Regions from separate parts of the Homo sapiens genome. Here region 2 is linked to region 1. Evidence: promoter capture Hi-C in human tissues and cell types (Jung and others, 2019). All regions are on one chromosome and are shown on one strand. The core of a region is centred on a gene start or on the middle of the fragment in contact, and the rest is flanking DNA. Distances in the headings are between cores, read along the strand shown.

Region 1 (2,700 bases), core at 2-2,501:
GATGTCTCGAAAAGCACTGAGGCAAATATGCCAGAGTCCCACCCCAAGCGCGAAGAGCCTCCGATTGTTTGACACATCAATGGATTAGTGAATGAGGGCAACTCACTCTTCCCTTCTAATTTACCTTAATTATTCTTCTCAGAAACCCTCAAGTTTACTCTAAGTTATCACCATATGGAATCTTTTCTTTGCCCCAAAGTATAAATTCAGGCCTTTCCCAAATAGCTAGTACTGCTTCAATCGCAACCACTGAAATAAATACCTTAAAAATATCACACATCTACTAATTCCACGCAAATGTGGAAAAAGCCAGTCCAGTCGCCTGAAGAAATAAGGTTCTGGAACATGGTTAAATGATGCATATTTTGTAACAGAAGGCACTGAGCATAGTGGGAGACTCGAAAGCAAAAGACCGGATGGAAATCATGGGAAGACCCCGCCCCAGTAAGCTCGATGCCGATTCAAACAGTAACTTGGATGTGTCGTTTGGAATCGGAATCACTGAAACAAAGGCGTATATTACGGGAAGCAAGATGTCTGGAGTAAAATAAACGGTATGCAGCTACCGAGACCGTACACCGTCCTCCCACAGGTCTTACCTATGGTGGAAATAAAGGTAGTATTGAAGGCATCATCCGAAAAACGAAAAAGGACGCAGGTCTTCCCCACTCCGGAATCCCCGATCAGGAGCAGCTTGAAAAGCAGGTCGTACGTCTTCTTCGCCATTGGGAGGAGCGGCTCGGGCTCTCGCCGCCGGCGGCCCCAAGGGATCGGTCCCTCTCACTACGGCCAACTCCTCACTCGGGCGTTCTCAGGCCGGAGGACCGGGGAAGCGTGGGAAAAAGGCTCGAGACGGCGCGGGCGACCTACGAACAGCTTTGAGGAAGCCCCGACAGTGGCGGCGTCCAGTGCCTCCGAGGGCGGCGACCGCGGCTCCGCAGCCTCTCCCAGCCCGTCCGCCCGGTTCCGGGGAGTCGGTCGGGACAAAATGGCCTCCCCTCCCCCCTCAGGGCTTCTCGGCCGGGACGCTCCCACGGGCGAGCAAGCCTGCTCTGCCGTCGAGGAGGCGCAGCGGGCGTGAGGACAGTCTCTCTCCCGAGCGGAAACTCCCTGCTAGCACGCGGCGAGGGCAGCGAAGAAGGACCCCTAAGTCGACGAGCTCAGTTACATAGCCCCAGGAAACCGAGCCACCCCGGCCAGAGCCACCTTTTCCCCGTGCCCTCTCACGCCGGCGTGCGCGCTGCCTGAGACGCACGCAAGGGCGTACGCCCGCCCTTCCCTCACGCCCTAGCCTTGCGGTCCGCCTCTGCGCACGCGCACAAGAGGGCATGGGGGCGCGCCGAAGTGGCGAGTGGAATGCTCCTGTCTCCAAGCCTCAGTCTGAGGCTGGACCCAGAGGGGAGAAGGGAGGGGCGAGAAAGGGCGAGGCCGCGGGCGCGCTCCCTGTGGCCGCCTGATAGGGTGCGCGGCGTTACGAGCACGCCCCGGGGGAGACGCTACCTAGCGACTGCGCAGGCGCAGCGCCCCCCCTCCGACCCCCGCCTCCCGCCTCCCGCTCCCCGCTCCCCGGGACACCCTTACAGAGCCCAGCACCTCCTTCCCCTCCCGGGGTCTCCCGCTGGACTGCGCTGCGGTTTCTCTGCACAGCGCTTGTCGGGTGTGTTGAGCTGGAGGTCTTGGCGCAGCGACGGGCTTGGGTGGCCATGTGTTCCCGTGTAGGTGGAGCTCGTAAACGCGAGAAAAAGCCGCGCCCTGGGTCATTTAATAGCCTCTTTGCTAGAACGAGACGCCTCCCGGCGTGCCCCCTCTCCAGGGCCAGCCCTGACGGGGAAACATGAGCGCTCCATCCGGATTGACTTCAAGAGCAAGAGTTTGAGATGGAAAAGCTGGCCACGCCGCTCGGGTTGGGATGAGGTAATCCTCACAACCTCTTCCTGGGCGAGGAGAGGAAGGTTGAGGAACACCTGGGCGCAGGAAGAACCTCCCTGCGAAGTGGAGGGTTCTGTGCGGTGCTCAGAGAACCTGCTTCAGGCCTTTGCCGTCCTTCAGGAATCCGGGAGAACCCGAGAGCGCTCTGCAGAGGAGGTGGGGCCTCTGCCTGCCGCCAGCGTCGTACCACTGGGTTGAAAATTGAAAGGTGGTCAAGCCTACTCCCAGTCCGACACAGCCTGCTTCCTCGCATTTTCTTTTTCTTTTTTTCTTTTCTTTCTTTTTTTTTTTTTTTTTTTTGAGATGGAGTTTCGCTCGTTTCCTCGCATTTTCTTTTTCTTTTTTTCTTTTCTTTCTTTTTTTTTTTTTTTTTGAGATGGAGTTTCGCTCTTGTTGCCCAGGCTAGAGTGCAATGGCACAATCTCTGCTCACTGCAACCTCCACCACCTGGGTTCAAGTGATTCTCCTGCCTCGGCCTCCCAAGTAGCTGGGATTACAGGCATGTGCTACCACGCCCGGCTAATTTTTTGTATTTAGTAGAGACGGGGTTTCACCCTGTTAGTCAGGCTGGTGTCGAACACCTGACAGGTGACCCGCCCGCCCCGGCCTCCCAAAGTGCTGGGATTACAGGCGTTAGCCCCCGCGCCCGGGCCCTCGCATTTTCTTTGCATTTGCTTTACCTTCTGTTCTCTCTCCCCATCAGTCCTGTTTACGCCACCCTTTTTCTCTCCTACCCTTCTGTAGTTGCAGTATGCATGCTGCTGACCTTCC
Region 2 (2,700 bases), core at 196-2,695, 49 kb before region 1:
ACTGTACCAATGGCAAGGCTGAGGGATGAATTCCATGTGCACACTTTTGTATTCCTCTGGGACATACTGCTGCAATCAACTGTAATAATAATGTACTTGGTATACCATGTACCAAAAACACGTACCATGTACCAAAACATGGTGTACCATGTACCAAAACATAATACACTAGGGAAAAGCACATATGACCCAACATGATTTCCTCATTATTGCGATATCATTCACTTTTTAACAATTGGCTATAAGCTAATTCACATTATAGTAACATGAGTTTCAGTAGGGTAAACCACACTTACTACACACTTGGCAATGAATAAGGCAAAGTCCTTCTGTTGGGGGAACTTATGAAAGGGTATTACCCATTCCCCCCAATTTCAAATCTCTGATGTTAGTAATAATAAATCCTATGAACAAGAACAGGAGGAAGAGCTATCTTATATGAGGTGGTCAAGGAATGACGCACTGAGAGATATTTGAGCAAAGACCTTAAGGTAAGGGAACAGGCCATGTGACTATTTGGGGAGAGTGTTCCAGGCAGAGAAAATAACAAGTACAATGGATTTGACATGCAAATATGTTTGGCATGTTCAAGAAACACAGGGAGCATTTTGAGCAGAGTGATGTGAGCCTTCTAATCCATGAATACGGTATAGCTCTCTTTATTTGGGCTGTCTTTAGTTCTCTCAGCGATATTTTGTAGTTTTCCATGTCTAAGCCTTGCATATATTTTTAAAATTTATCCCCATTTCATTTTCATTTGTTGGATGCTATTGTAAATAATATATTTTTACATTTCATTTTCTCATTGTTTGCTGCTAAACACAGAACTCCAATTGATTAAGCAGGTGCAGCTGCTCACGCCTGTAATCCCAGCACTTTGTGGGGCCGGCGTGGGCAGATCACTTGAGGCCAGGAGTTCGAGACCAGCCTGGCCAACACAGCAAAACCCAGTCTCTACTAAAGATACAAAAAATTAGCCCAGTGTGGTGGCACACACCTGTAATCCCAGCTACTAGCATACAAAAAATTAACCGGGTGTGGTGGCACACACTTGTAATCCCGGCTACTGCAGAGGCTGTGGCATAAGAATTGCTAGAACCTGGGAGGCGGAGGTTGCAGTGAGCTGATATGGTGCCACTGCACTCCAGCCTGGGTGACAGAGTGAGACAAAAGGAAAGTACAGGGAAGGAAAGGAGAAAGGAGGGGAAGGTTTTGGGGGAGGGGAGGGAAGAGGGGAAAGCTGAGGGGGAAGGGAGGGGAGGGGAGAGAAGAGAGAAAAGAGAAAAAAGAAAAATAATACAATTGGTTTTGGTACACTGACCTTGTATCCTGCAACCTGTTACATTCACTTATTAATTCTAGTTGCTCTTTTTTTGTGGAGAAGGTAGGTTATTTAGGATTTTCTATGTATATAACAACACAGTCTAAATAAAGGCACGTTTACATCTTCTGACTTATTTCTCTTGCTTTATTTTATTATCTACAACCTCTAATATACTGTTGTTCTTTATTTGACCTTAGGAAGCTCTAGACTAAATGCTCTGCCATTAAAGTGTGTTAACTGTACAAAATTTAGCACATTAAACAAATGTTCCTGTTCCTAGATTCCTGAGTTATCATGAGGTGTATTTCATCAAATGCTTTGTCTATGCCTACTATGATGGTATGATTTTTCTTCTTTACTCCATTAAGGCAGCTAATTACTTTGATTTTAAATGTGAAACCAACCTTGCATTCCTGGAATAAAGTCCATTTGAGTCATGATGTATTATTCTTTTCATAAATTCCTGGATTTGGTTTGCAATTATTTAGTTAATAATTATTATGTTCTTGAAAAAAATCTCTATGTTCATTAGGGATAGGTCATATCTTTAGTTTTAGTATCCAAGACAAGGCTGATCCCATAAAACAACTTGGAAAGCATACCCTCTTGCATTTATTGGAAGAGTTTAAGATTCATATTGTTTCTTCTTTAAACATTTGATATAAATCACCAGTGAAGCCATTTGGGCCTGAGGTTTCTTTCAGAAAGGTTTTAAATTAAGATCTCATTTCTTAAATATATGTCTACTTATTCTATCAATTACTAAGAGAGGACTGTTAAAATATCCAACTATACAATTATAGATTATTTCTCCTTCCAATTCTGTCAGTTTTTGCCTCAAGTATTTTGATATTCTGTTATTAGGTATATATGACAAACTGACCCCTTTATCATTATAAAAAGATCCTCTTTATTTCTAGAAATATACTCCTTGCTCTAAAATCTACCTTGTCTAATATTAATATAGCACTCCAACTTTAAGATTTGGTCGCTGATTAGATGTGCCCAGTATATTTTTTAGTAGTTTCTCTAAGGCTCATAATAAACATCGTAACTAGAACCATCTACCTCCAAATGGTATTATACCACTTTTAACATAATATAAGAACCTTACAGAATTATACTTCCATTTTTTCCCCTTCCCATCATTGGGCTATTATTGTTTTTTAAAATTTCTTTGTTACACTTCTACATTTTACTGCTAAGTGCTATAAATCCTATAAAACATTAAAATATTTTACTGTAAACAATTATCTTTTAAATAAATTAAAAATTGAGAAGAAATATTTTCTATTTCCACACATTTTTACCATTTCCTGTCATCTTCATTCCTTTTGTGTAAGTTTCGATTTCCATCCGGAATAATTTTTTTCAGG

Evidence for each region. Contacts are between HindIII fragments. The study calls those that stand out against the background at their distance.
Region 2: a contact is called between a fragment that was not itself captured here and the fragment with the promoter of RAB10 in region 1, in 3 of the 25 tissues and cell types used here (H1 embryonic stem cells, liver and pancreas).

The regions. Positions count from the first base shown.
Region 1 is chr2:26,032,635-26,035,334 of GRCh38, reverse strand. It overlaps RAB10 (RAB10, member RAS oncogene family), which reads right to left and starts at 1,251. Exons shown (of 6, transcript NM_016131.5): 1 at 600-1,251. The coding sequence starts at 726. It overlaps LOC124907743 (a long non-coding RNA gene), which reads left to right and starts at 1,586. Exons shown (of 2, transcript XR_007086249.1): 1 at 1,586-1,657; 2 at 2,674-2,700. RefSeq lists an enhancer at 996-1,045 and a silencer at 1,356-1,585. The HindIII fragment of the contact is 17,562 bases long and covers 1-2,700 here.
Region 2 is chr2:26,081,958-26,084,657 of GRCh38, reverse strand. All of the region lies in intron 1 of RAB10 (RAB10, member RAS oncogene family), which reads right to left. The region is part of intron 1 of LOC105374333 (a long non-coding RNA gene); the gene reads right to left. Among named protein-coding and RNA genes, the nearest start is that of RAB10, 49 kb to the right of the region's middle. The HindIII fragment of the contact is 7,743 bases long and covers 1-2,700 here.